2 separate regions of the Homo sapiens genome follow, and region 2 is linked to region 1. Evidence: promoter capture Hi-C in 16 types of primary human blood cells and fetal thymus (Javierre and others, 2016). All regions are on one chromosome and are shown on one strand. The core of a region is centred on a gene start or on the middle of the fragment in contact, and the rest is flanking DNA. Distances in the headings are between cores, read along the strand shown.

Region 1 (7,007 bases), core at 1,768-4,267:
TAAGATGAGAGCAACTAAAGCTATGCTATCCAATATGGTGGCCACTAGCTACATGTGGCTATTTAAATTTAGATTAAGTTAAAAATTCAGGTCCTCAGTCTCAACAACCACATTTCAAGTGTCCAATAACCACATGTGCTGGTGGCTGCCACGCAGATACAGAACATTTCCAGCAGTGCAGAAAGTTCTGTTGGTCAGATGTATGCTCCTATACTGATGGAGAAGACCCCGGAGAGAAAGGTGGTTAGGAAGGAGAGACAATCTCTGAAAAGATGGGAGGAGGAAGGGATGGAATGGAGGCTACCCCAGAAGAAGGGGCCCCTAGTAGGAAGAGATGAGGGACAGGTCATCCAGCACAGCAGGCAGGTAGGAGAAGGTAGCAGCAGCTGCATACTAGACTAGGTGGTGGCAAAATGAAGACATTCCCTTGGTCAAAGGTGCCTATCTTGTCAATTGAAAGGGAAGCCACGGGGTGTGCCTAGGAAGGGGAGAGGTCTGGAAAGGGGAATAGGTATGAAATAGTTGCCTTAGGGAGTAAGAACACAAACTCACTGGAGAGGCCACACTTAACACAGAACACTTCGCAGAAGAGAAGTGGAAAATGGTAGTGAACATTTGAGGGAGGAGAAGCATCTCAAGTTGGGGGGAGGTAAACTCAGATAGTTTGTTTTTTTTTCCCTTAAATCCTAGTCCTGTCTACACAGCAGAGCCATGACGAAGCTGTAGGATCGCAGCAAGGTTTTCTACTAGCTGCCCTTTCAAAAAGTTCTTCCCCCTCCATCCTACACAACTCTCAGAAAGGATGACATTGGTTCTATTTTCAGTTAAAACGGCTCCCTCCACCCTCCTGTCTGAATTGCTTCCCCAGCCCTTAGCTGCATCTCAATTTACGACCATGGCTTGTATTTTCACATAAATAATAGAAGACATGGATCTATTAAAAATGGCAGAGGTAGGTAGGAGTTACAAACCAGCCTTTATCTACGAGAAGTGAGTAATATATACATTTATCGAATGATGTTAAAATTACATGAAAGACATATTCTGTGTTTAAACAAAATCCCCAAGCGTCTCCTCCCTGCTTCTCCACAAACAAAAATTATTTTTTGACATTTTCTTTAAGGTTTTATGAGTGAGTAAACATTTTCATTTCCACAGAACTATTTGATCTCAACCACAGAGTTTCAGTACTTGTTTTTGATCACACAAGTACGGTGGATTGGTTTTGTGTTGGCCAGGGGGAGGGAGGGCCAGAAAGAGAGTTAAAATTACCGGATCCCTTTTATCTTCCATTCTGAGACCTTACATTTGCCAACTCCTTTTTCCCTGTACATTTTTTTAAAGTATGAAATCTGAGAACCTCAAAGGCTCTCACTGCTCAAAGATCAGCCTTTTCACAGTCCACTGAGGACTCACTGGAAATGTTACAGAAATACGGCCTGCCAACTTGGGTGCCTCTGGGTAAAATCACCCACAGTTGCTGTTCATGTGAAATCTCCTAAATGTAAGCACACTTCTTCAGCCCTCGCTGCTCATCTCGCCTCCTCCTCTCTGTCACCCACCTCTGTCATGTCCAGTTCATGTTGGCCCACAGCCCTCACACTTCCATTCCTCAAAATTCCTCTTGGCCTGCCTCTGATCCCCTCACACACTCTGCAGCTCCCATGGCTAAGACTCACCAGGCAAAATGACTCCAGAAACTTAACCTGGAGTACGGTGCAAGAAAGCCACTGACCCAGGGGGGCTGAGCCAGGGCACCAGGACAATCTTGCTCCTTCCACTGCACTCTTGCCTTCCCAGGCCCCACCCATCCCAAACAGGAAAGCAAGATCTCTAGACCCTTGGAGCAGAAGCATTTGAGTCCTGCGAAGGGCTGTTGGAAGAATGCTGGGTTCAGCAGCAGGGAACAGAGAGATTTAGGAATTCTGGTTCACTTACCCGCCTCCATGCCCACGTCAGGCAGTGGCAAGGCCACCCCTGCTACACAAATGCTCATCAACTACACAGCCTGGGGGAAGTCACCGAACCACTTTGTGCCTCAGTTTCCTCATCTGTAAAGTGGACATAAGTGTCCCCTGAATACGTATGGCAAACCGTCAACGTGTGCCCAAATAGAGTGAGCAGATGTAAGGAGTTATTGTGCTATTAGCACAGTGGCTCCCAGACTCACAGAGCCTACTGCTCAGAGAGACGCCGAGGGGAAAGCTTAAATTACTTTATATACTCAGAAGCATTAGTCACTTCGACAGAGTATTTCAACTTCCCTCCTGAGCATCTACTCAGTTGTTTCAAAGACTGAAGCCTCACCTAGGTTCCTTATAGACTTCCATCATCTTCAGCATCTCAAAGCAGATCCAAAGTCCACTATTCCTACGCTGGAGGTTTATTATTATTTGATTATTTCCAGGAAAACTTCGATTTCCATTTTGCTTGTAATAAATCCAAACGTGGAGAACGACAAACTGCTTAGACTCACACAGGCCCTGGAGTTGACTGCGCCCAGGGGCGAAGAGACCGCGGAATGGCCGAGGCAGGAGGCCGGCCAGGGCACCGGTCCCCGTCAGGTGCCCCCGTGCCCGGGCTGTATGGGAGGGGAAGGGCCACGGGCTCCGCGCCCAGGCCAGGGTGCCCCTGCTGGGTGTCCGCGTGCCCCGGCGGAGGGCGCGGGTCAGGTGGCCCCAGACTCCCGGGCGCAGAGTGTGCGCTCGCTCCGGCTTGGGGAGGCGGGGGCCGGCCCGCCGGGAGGCTCCGAGCCCGGTTACGCCAGCCGCGGCCCCGCAGTCCCTCCGGAGGGGCGCGCGGAGAGCGCGCGGCGCGGGCTCACTCACCCCATCTCCGGCGCTGCTCCGGCGGCCGCTCCGACGGGGCCTCTCGCGCTCGCTCTCCGCCCGCTCGGCAGCCGCTCCCCGCGCGGCACATGCGGCGGCCCGTGCGCGCCCGGCTCAGCCCCGGCGCCGCTCCATTCCGCGGGGCTGCGCGGCTGCCACTGCTGCCACTGCCGCCACCGCCGCCAGGCGCGGGCGGGCGGGGGCTGGGCGGCCGCGCTGGGGCGGTGCCCGCCCCGCCCTCCCCAGCCGCTACCCCCGCCCGGCTCCTTACGTAACCTCGTGGCCCCCGGGCCGCGGCAGCGAGCCAAGAGGCGGGGGGCGCAGCACTGTGTGCACCGTCCCCCGCGCAGCCGCGCAGTCGCCGCTTTTCTCCCGGGCCACCCAGTCCTCGGTGCCGGCCCCGCGTTGGCGCGCCCCCGCCCCACGCCGACCCGGGGCCCTGGCGCAGTGCCATCAACATCCTGCCTGATGGACTTAAAGTCCCATTCACACCTGGCGGGGACTTTAGGGCTACCTTTACTTTGCAGATAAGGGAACCGAGGCCTGGGGAGGGTAAGTGATTTGCCCAAGGTCACACATTCAGATTAGAGTTCGTTCGGGTCTCCAGAGTCTGAGATGGGCATAGCTGTGCTCCTCCTTAAAGCCCACCTTCATCTTCCTGCCAGTTGCCCGGCCGAGTGGCCTTAAGGTACCCGCCACCGTGAAATTTCGGAAGCCAGCCTGGCAGAGAAGAGCCTACAGGCCGCGGCAGATGCTCTGGGCTCTTTCCTGGATAAAAATGAGATGAGGGCTCCCACTTGAAGGGGCAGTTTTAAGGCGGCTTCATCAAGCTTGGTTTTATCCTTAGAGCGAGGGGAATTAGGATGGCAAAAGTAGAACTTGAAGAAGAGCAGGCTCTCTTCGTCGCCTTTCTACCTATCAGGTCCTGAGTTTCTACCAAAGGCTGGCACTGGGACTAACCTAACCTTCATCCCCCGGGACTTCCACGGGATCATCTTCTGCTGGGAACACACCGCCCACATAAGCCTGGCATCTCAGGACAGTAAAAAAGTCAAGGGACAGGTCGGGCGCGGTGGCTCACGCCTGTAATCCCAGCACTTTGGGAGGCCGAGGCGGGCGAATCACGAGGTCTGGAGATCGAGGCCATCCTGGCTAACACGGTGAAACCCCGTCTCTACTAAAAATACACACACACAAAAAAAATTAGCCGGGCGTGGAGACAGGCGCCTGTAGTCCCAGCTACTCCGGAGGCTGACGCACAAGAATCGCGTGAACCTGGAAGGCGGATCTTGTAGTGAGCCGAGATCGCACCACTGCACTCCAGCCTGGGCAACAGAGCGAGACTCCGTCTCAAAAAATAAATAAATTAATTAATTAAATACATAAATAGCCGGGTGTGGTGGCGTGCTCCTGTAGTCCCAGCTACTCCCAGCTACTCGGGAGGCTTGATGCAGGAGAATCGCTTGAACCCAGGAGGCAGGGGTTGCAGCGAGCCGAGATCATGCCACTGCACTCTAGCCTGGTGAAAAGAGCCAGACTGTCTCAAAAAAATAAATAAATAAATACAAAATAAGTTTGTAAAAAATAAAATAATCTTGGGAGTTTCCAAATCCTCCATGCATAGTAATCAGCAATATCAGGAAAGTGAGCTTGTAGAACACTGAACAAGTCATTTATCAGGTAATACCTGAGGATTCTGAAGTGTTCGAATAACTTCAAAGGCAAGCCACTGAAATCAGAGTTTTTCATTTTTATTTTATTTTTATTATTTTTTTTTTGAGACGGAGTCTCACTCTGCTCACCCAGGCTAGAGTGCAGTGGCAGTGGCGTGATCTCGGCTCACTGCAACCCCCACCTCCCAGATTCAAGCGATTCTACTGCCTCAGCCTCCCCAGTAGCTGCGACTGCAGGCGCATGCCACCACGCCCAGTTTTTTTTTTTTTTTGTATTTTTAGTAGAGACAGGGTTTCACCATGTTTCGATCTCCTGACCTCGTGATCCACCCGCCTCGGCCTCCCAAAGGGCTGGGACTACAGGCATGAGCCACCGTGCCTGGCCGAGTTTTTCATTTTTTTAAACTACAATCCACAGTAAGAAATATATTTTACACTACAACCTGCAACCTGGTACATACTTCAGCACATACATACTATGTCTATAGGTATATCGATATAAAATAGAAACAAAAAGTTATATAAAACAATGTTTATCCTCTCACTTGCCAGGCAGGCATTCAGACATCATTCTGTTTTGTTGTTGTTGTTGTTGAGACAGAGTGTTGCTCTGTCACCAGGCTGGAGTGCAGTGGCATGATCTCAGGGCACCACAACCTCCGCCTCCCAGGTTCAAGCGATTCTCCTGCCTCAGCCTCCCAAGTAGCTGGGACTACAGGCGCGCACCACCACCCCAGCTAATTTTTGTATTTTTAGTAGAGACAGGATTTCACCATGTTGGCCAGGATGGTCTCCATCTCTTGACCTCGTGATCGGCCCACCTCAGCCTCCCAAAGTGCTGGGATTACAGGCGTGTGCCACCGTGCCCGGCCCATTCTGTTCTATTTTTAAAAGCAGTACTGCTCATAACCTACTAAATTGATTTCAAAACCTATAATCTACGTATTTTTACTTTCTTTTTCTTTTTCTTTTTTTTTTTTTTTTGAGACGGAGTCTCACTCTGTTGCCCAGGCTGGAGTGCAGTGGCGCAATCTTGGCTCACTGCAACTTCTGCCTCCTGGGTTCATGCAATTCTCCTGCCTCAGCCTCCCGAGTAGCTGGGGCTACAAGCGCATGCCACCACACCTGGCTACTTTTTTGTAGTTTTAGTAGAGATGGGGTTTCACCATGTTAGCTAGGATGGTCTCGATCTCCAGACCTTGTGATCCGCCTGCCTCGGCCTCCCAAAGTGCTGGGATTATAGGCGTGAGCCACCATGCCCGGCCTGTATTTTTACTTTCAACAGCAAAATTAGGCTCACCATGTACATGCATAATGTTGTTATTAGTGTGCTCAGATTTCTGGTATGGCTGGTCCAGGGACTTCAAACATTTTTTTTTCTAACCATAAAAGGTCAGTTCTTTCAACTGCATATGAAACAAATGTATTATTAAAGCCATTAATTAAAGGGATAACTGTCGGGTATTATGCAGCTATTACATTATATTTGTGAAGCCTATATAGTAACATAGAAATATATTTATTCTTTCAATAAATGTTGATCACCTGCTGTGTATCTGGTACTGTGTTGGGCATAAAGTGCTCAGCAAAACAGACGTCCTTCTGTCATAGGACTATAAGATTGTGTGAATGGTATTAATCAAATAATCACACAAATATATAAGCTACGATCTGTGTGAATAGGAGACCTAATTTAGGTTGAGGAGGATGGTCAGGAATGGCCTGTTGAAGAGACATTTAAAAAGAGGCCTGATGGCTGGGTGTGGTGGCTCATGACTGTAGTCCCAGCACTTTGGGAGGCCAAGGCAGGCAGATCACTTGAGGCCAGGAGTTCAAGACCAGCCTGGCCAACATGGCAAAACCCCATCTTTACTAAAAATACAAAACCTAGCCAGGCATGGTGGTACATGCCTGTAATCCCAGCTAATTAGGAGGCTGAGGCAGGAGAATCACTTGAACTCAGGAGGCAGAGGTTGCAGTGAGCTGAGATTGCATCACTGCACTCCAGCCTGGGTGACAGATTGAGACTCCATCTCAAAAAAAAAAAAAAAAAAGAAGAGGCTTGAAGACAAAGAAGCATCAGTCATGGGGAGCATGAGGGGAGGGTTCCAAGCAGAGGAAACTGCAACGGCCCTGAGGTGGTAGAGAATCATGCTGTTCTGAAGAGCTGGGAGAAGGCCAGTGTGGTTAGAGTGCAGTGAGCTTAGCAAAGCATGGGTGAAGTATGCAGGGCCCTTTGGCTGGATTAAGGATTTGCAATTTATTCAAATGCAGTGAGAACCCACTGATGGGTTGGGGAATGCCGTGATCTGGTTTATATTGTTAAAATATCACTCACTCCTGGGAGAAGAGGGGATAAGAAGGGGACAAGAGTAAAACATGGAGACTGGTTAAGAGGCTCTAGACAAAAGATAAGGGTGGAGATGAAGGGAAGTGGATTACAGATTATAGATATTTTAGAGGTAGACTCAATAAGACTTGGTGGATGGGATGTGTATTAGGATAT
Region 2 (6,618 bases), core at 1,674-4,173, 280 kb before region 1:
CAGAGAGGAATTTTAAGCAGGAAACACTGACTTCCTTTCCATAACCTATGCCAACATACATGCTACCTTGCAGATGCCTGCTAATCATGCTTAGAAAACTGGCTGTTAAAAAAAATTGAAATATATCCTCAATTCACACATTACACATGAGTAAGTTTAAGCTCTAGATGGATGTGGCAGACAGATTCTAAGGTCTTCCCCACCAGTAGCTGCCTCCTGGTGTTCATGCCTTTGTGCAATCCCTCACCTTGGGTATGGGCAAAACCTGAGACTTGCTTCTAACCAACAGGATATGGCAAAGGTGGTATATGACTATATATGATCCTATGATTATGTTTTATTAAGAAGACTCTGTATTGGAAGTTCTATCTAGAGCAATCAGACAGGAGAAAGAAATAAAGGGTATCCAAATTGGAAAAGAATTCAAATTATCCTTGTTTGCAGATGATATGATCTTATATTTAAAAAATCTTAAGGATTCCACCAAAAAACTATTAGAACTAATAAATTCAGTAAAGTCGCAGGATACAAAATCCACATAAAAATCAGTAGCATTGGCCAGGTGCGGTGGCTGATGCCTGTAATCCCAGCACTTTGGGAGGCCGAGGCAGGCAGATCGTGAGATCAAGAGATTGAGACCATCGTGGCCAACATGATGAAATCCTGTCTCTACTAAAAATACAAAAATTAGCTGGATGTGGTGATGCACACCTGTAGTCCGAGCTACTCAGGAGGCTGAGGCAGGAGAACCGCTTGAACCCGGGAGGTGAAGGTTGCAGTGAGCCAAGATGGCGCCACTGCACTCCAGCCTGGTGACAGAGCAAGACTCCGTTTCAAAAAAAAAAAAAATCAGTAGCATTGTCCAGGCACAGTGGCTCACACCTGTAATCCTAGCAAGCACTTTGGGAGGCCGAGGCAGGCAGAATACCTGAGGTCAGGAGTTCGAGACCAGTCTGACCAACATGGAGAAACCCTGTCTCTACTAAAAATACAAAATTAGCTGGGCATGGTGGTGCATGCCTGTAATCCCAGCTACTCGGGAGGCTGAGGCAGGAGAATTGCTTGAACCCGGGAGGCAGAGGTTGTGGTGAGTGGAGATCGCGTCACTGCAGTCCAGAGCCTGGGCAACAGAGTGAGAACTCCATCTCAAAAAAAAAAAAAAAAAAAAACCCATTGCACTCCAGCCTGGGCAACAAGAGCAAAACTCCGTCTCCAAAAAAAAAAAAAAAAAAAAAAATCAGTGGCTTTTTTTTTTTTGGCGGGGGGGGACGAAGATGAAGTCTCGCTCTTGTCCCCTAGGCTGGAGTGCAGTGGCGCGATCTTGGCTCACTGCAACCTCCGCCTCCCGGGTTCAAGCAATTCTCCTGCCTCAGCCTCCCAAGTAGCTGGGATTACAGGCACCCGCCACCACGCTCAGCTAATTTTTGTATTTTTAGTAGAGACAGGGTTTCGCCATGCTGGCCAGGCTGCTCTTGAACTCCTGACTTCAGGTGATCCACCAGCCTCGGCCTCCCAAGATGCTGGGATTACAGGCATGAGCCACCACGCCTGGCCGTGAATTCATTTTTGACAAAGGTATCAAGAACATACATTAGGGAAAGGAGAGTCTCTTCAATAAATGGCGCTGGGAAAACGGGATATCCACATGCAGAACAATAAAACCAGACCCCTATCTCTCACCATATGCAAAAATCAAATCATAGTGGATTAAAAACTTAAATCTAACACTTCAAACTATGAAACTAATAAAAGAAAACATTAGAGAAATTCTCCAGGACATTGTACTGGGCAAAGATTTCTTGAGTGATACCCCACAAGCACGGGCAACCAAAGCAAAAGTAGACAAATGGGATCACATCAAGTTACAAAGGTTCTGCACAGCAAAGGAATCAACAAAGAGACAAGCCACAGAATAGGAGGAAAAAATTTGCAAACTACCCATCTGACAAGGGATTAATAACCAGAATACGTAAGGAGATCAAATAACTCAATAGGAAAAAAAAATTCAATAATCCAATTTAAAAATGGGCAAAAGAGCTGAATAGACATTTCTCAAAAGAAGACATACAGATAGCAAACACGTATATGAAAAGGTGATCAACATCATTGAGCATCAGAGAAATGCAAATCAAAACTACAATGAAAGGCCAGGCACGGGTGGCTCATGCCTGTAATCCCAGTACTTTGGGAGGCTGAGGCAGGCGGATCACCTGAGATCAGGAGTTGAGACCAGCCTGACCAACACAGCGAAACCCCATCTTTACTAAAAGTACAGAAATTAACGGGGCGTGGTGACGCACGCCTGTAGTCCCAGCTACTCAGGAGGCTGAGGCAGGAGAATCACTTGAACCACAGAGGCAGAGGTTGCAGTGAGCCAAGATCGCACCACTGCACACTCCAGCCTGGGTGACAGAGCAAGACTCCGTCTCAAAAAACAAAACAAAACAAAAAAAGATATATCATCTCACCCCAAGTAGGCTTATATCCAAAAGATAGGCAATAACAAATGCTGACAAGAACATGGAGAAAAGGCAACCCTTGTACACTGTTAGTGGAAATGTCTGGAGAACAGTTTGGAGGTTCCTTAAAAAACTAAACATAGGCCGGGCACGGTGGCTCACACCTGTAATCCCAGCACTTTGGGAGGCCGAGGTGGGTGGATCGCGAGGTCAAGAGATCAAGACCATCCTGGCCAACATGGTGAAACCCTGTCTCTACTAAAAATACAAAAAATTAGCTAGGCGTGGTGGCAGGCACCTGTAATCTCAGCTACTTGGGAGGCTGAGGCAGAAGAAGAATCACTTGCACCCAGGAGGCAGAGGTTGCAGTGAGGCAAGATCACGCCATTGCACTCCAGCCTGGGAAAAAAGAGTGAAACACCATCTCAAAAAAAAACACTACAAATAGGCCAGGTGCAGTGGCTCACGCCTGTAATCCCAGCACTTTGGGAGGCCGAGTCGGGCAGATCACTTGCGGCCAGGAGTTCAAGACCAGCCTGGCCAACATGGTGAAACCCCATCTCTACTAAAAATATGAAAATTAGCCAGACTTGGTGGCGGGCGCCTGTAATCCCAGCTACTCAGGAGGCTGAGGCAGGAGAATCGTTTGAACCTGGGAGGCGGAGGTTGCAGTGAGCTGAGATCATGCCATTGCACTCCAGCCTGGGTGACAGTGCAAGACTCCATCTCAAACAAACAAACAAAAACTAAAAATAGTGCTACCATATGATCCAGCAATCCCAATGCTATGTATATACCCAAAAGTAAGGAAATCAACATATTGAAGTTATATCTGCACACCTACGTTTATTGCAGCACTGTTCACCATAGCCAAGATTTGAAAGCAACTTAAGTGTCTATCAACAGACAAATAGATAAAGAAAATACGGTACATATGCACAATGCAGTACTATAAAAAAAGAATAAAAAAGAATGAGATCCTGTCATTTGCAACAACATGGATAGAACTAGAGGTCATTATTTTAAGTGAAATAAGCCAAGCACAGAAAAACAAACTTCACATGTTCTCACTTATTTGTGAGGGCTAAAAATTAAAAGAATTGAGCTCATGGAGTTGGAGAGTAGAATAATGGTTACCAGAGGCTGAGAAGGGTAGTGGGTGGGGGAAGTGGGGATAGTTAATGGGTACAAAATTATAGTTAGATAGAATGTGTAAGATCTAGTATTTGACAGCACAACAGGGTGACTACAGTCAACAATAATTTATTATACATTTATAAATAACTAAGAGAGTGTAATTTGATTGTTTGTAACACAAAAGATAAATGCTTGAGAGGATGGATACCCCATTCCCTGATGTGATTGTTATGCATTATATGCCTGTATCAAAATATCTCACATACCCCATAAATATATACACCTACTATGTACCCATAAAAATTAAAAAATAAAAAGAAGACGGTCTTGCTAGCAGACTGGCTCTAGAGACTTTCTCCCTTGTGGCTTTGGAGAAATTAAGCATCCGTGTTGGGAGGCCCCTATGGCAATGAGCTAAGGACGGCCTCTAGAAGGCAAGGGCAGCCCCCAGCTGACAGCCAGCAAGAAGCCAGGGCCACAATCCTACAACTGCAAGGAAGTGGATCGTGGCACCATGTGACTTGGAAGTGGACCTTTCCCCAGTACAGCCTCCAGATAAAAACTCAGCCTTGGCTGACACCTCAGTTGTAGCCTTGCATAAGATCCAACTAAGCCATACCTGAATTCTCGACCCATAGACACTGAGAAAATAAACGTGTGTTGTTTGAAGCCACCAAATTTATAGTAATTTATTATGTAGCAGAAAACTAATACAATTGATTTAAAAATGTGAAAGTAGAAAAAAATTTGGAGGAAATTCTTTTTAATTTTTATTTATTTTTGAGATGGATCTTGCTCTGTGGCCCAGGCTGGAGTGTGGTGGTACCATCTCAGCTCACTGTAACCTCCACCTCCTGGGTTCAAGCAATTCTCCTGCCACAGCCTCCCAAGTAGCTGAGATTTCAGCGCACCACCACACCCAGCTAATTTTTTTGTACTTTTAGTAGAGACAGGGTTTTGCCATGTTGGTCAGGCTGGTCTTGAATTCATGACCTCAAATGACCCACCCACCTTGGGCTCCCAAAGTGCTGGGATTACAGGTGTGAGCCACTGAACCCAGCCTGGAGAAAATTCTAAGTGAAAAGTTTAATTGAAATGTGAATGGGGAAAAAAAAGTATTAAATATGAAAGCATTGAAAAGAAGCAGAAAAGTTTAAAATATTGGACAATAGACAAAAGTACAACTTCTGAATGACTATATATAGGAATAAAAAATAAGGAAATATATAATTAATGGTGGTCTTCTAAATGGTGGACTTATTAATAGTTTAAACTTATAATTTTCTGAGTTTTCCAAATGTTCTATGATAAGCATGTATTACCTTTAGCATATTAAAAAAAGTTTACGTTTTTAAAAGCAATTCTGCAAAATTTGTCAGAATCTTCTATTCACTGTAAAGGCGGTCACATGGGAGGGTTGTAGATCCCACTGTGCCCCTGGCAGACCCTCCTGCCACACATCTCACCTGACACATAAAAGCAAACTAACCTGCTAGGCAGTTTCCCCAGGGTCTATATCCAGGTGGATGTAATAGCCACTTTGATTACCAACCCCCCCATCCCCCGCCACCTGCATGTTATGCCTTTGTGGCCTCTGGTCTAGTATCTGATTATCTGCTGATCAATAGCAGGGCAGAGGCCTCATCTTGGTCATTTCCTTGGCCTCATCCTGGGCCAGGATCTGGCATGCCGTGGGCCCATGTCCAAATTGGAGAGAATGACTGAGATTACTGTGGCCTTTTAGCTGGGCAGATTGCCACTCATGGTCCCAGGATGGGAAGCATCACTACTGTTTTGCAAGCATGGTCATGTGCGCATCCAAACCACCTCCCTCCTAGTACCCCAAGGACTCCCCCTTCTTTACCACTCCCAGAAGAGGCTGGGAAGAAAGGAGAAAGAAAGGGAGGACAAAAATCTTTATTGAATCAAATAACCATTCTAAGGGGCCTGCAAAAACTCACTTGCAGGTGAAGGGCGCCCTGGAGGTGAGTGTCCATTTGCCTGAACAGCCTACTCTGGGTTCCCTGACAGGGGTCATTCCTAGGGGAGGGTTCAGCTGTATATACCCACAGCTCGCTGTGCCAACCCTGATGACAGCTGTTACTGCTGTGTTTAAAATGTTTATTTTTGTCCTGTTTCTCCTACTTGGCTGTGAGTATCTGGAGACCTGTAAATGTGTCTCACTCATTGTCATATCCTCAGGACGCAGCACAGTACCAGGCAAATAGTAGGCCTACATGTTAAATAAATGAACAAATGCACATGTAGCTCACAGTAACAACTTGGGGGAAATGACATGTGGACAGGCCCAGGCTTATGAAAACATGCCAACCTCACCATCCTGGGGTTTAGGACTCTGGCTCAGTGCTGAGCATGTCAGACTCCCACCTACATATATGTTAAATAAATGAACAAATGCACATGTAGCTCACAGTGACAACTTGGGGGAAATGACATGTGGACAGGCCCAGGCTTATGAAAACATGCCAACCTCACCATCCTGGGGTTTAGGACTCTGGCTCATTGCTGAGCATGTCAAGACTCCCACCTACCTGGGTGGCTCCCCACCCAGGCTGCTTCATCTTTTCAAACATTCCTCCCACTTGCTCCTTCCTCCCACCTGAACAAAGGAAGTATACAAATATTTTTTCAACGATTGAACGCTTCCCCATGGTGCTCTTTCTCCCTCTAACTTCTCTCTCTCCCCCTCTAACTTCTCTCTCTCCAATCTGCTTTGCCCACAACACTGATAACAAGCTCAGGGTCACATGGTCCAGTGTCTCTCCTCCTTCCACCTGAAGACCTAAGGTTTGGAAGTTACTTTTGATAAGGCTAGCATATTTAATTATACAGACTCAGTTGCCTCCACATGTTGCTGCTGTCCTTTGACTCCTGATTACAGTCACAGCACTTGGTGGCCCTGCCTACCTCACCTTGAGCCTCTGGGGCTCACTCTGGCCACAATGGATCAAAGAAGCCACTGAAAAAGATAAGTGCCACCATCCAAAGACTCCCACGCACA

Evidence for each region. The method cuts DNA at HindIII sites, captures the fragments that hold promoters and counts their contacts. A CHiCAGO score of 5 or more calls a contact.
Region 2: a contact is called between a fragment that was not itself captured here and the fragment with the promoter of HOMER2 in region 1, in 3 of 17 cell types (naive CD8 T cells, total CD4 T cells and total CD8 T cells). The highest score is 6.7, in naive CD8 T cells.

Annotation. Positions count from the first base shown.
Region 1 is chr15:82,949,703-82,956,709 of GRCh38, forward strand. It overlaps HOMER2 (homer scaffold protein 2), which reads right to left and starts at 3,018. Exons shown (of 9, transcript NM_004839.4): 1 at 2,829-3,018. The coding sequence starts at 2,833. RefSeq lists an enhancer at 2,268-2,768. The HindIII fragment of the contact is 1,453 bases long and covers 2,204-3,656 here.
Region 2 is chr15:82,668,856-82,675,473 of GRCh38, forward strand. The region is part of intron 14 of AP3B2 (adaptor related protein complex 3 subunit beta 2); the gene reads right to left. The region is part of intron 3 of CPEB1-AS1 (CPEB1 antisense RNA 1); the gene reads left to right. Among named protein-coding and RNA genes, the nearest start is that of CPEB1-AS1, 24 kb to the left of the region's middle. The HindIII fragment of the contact is 8,602 bases long and covers 1-6,618 here.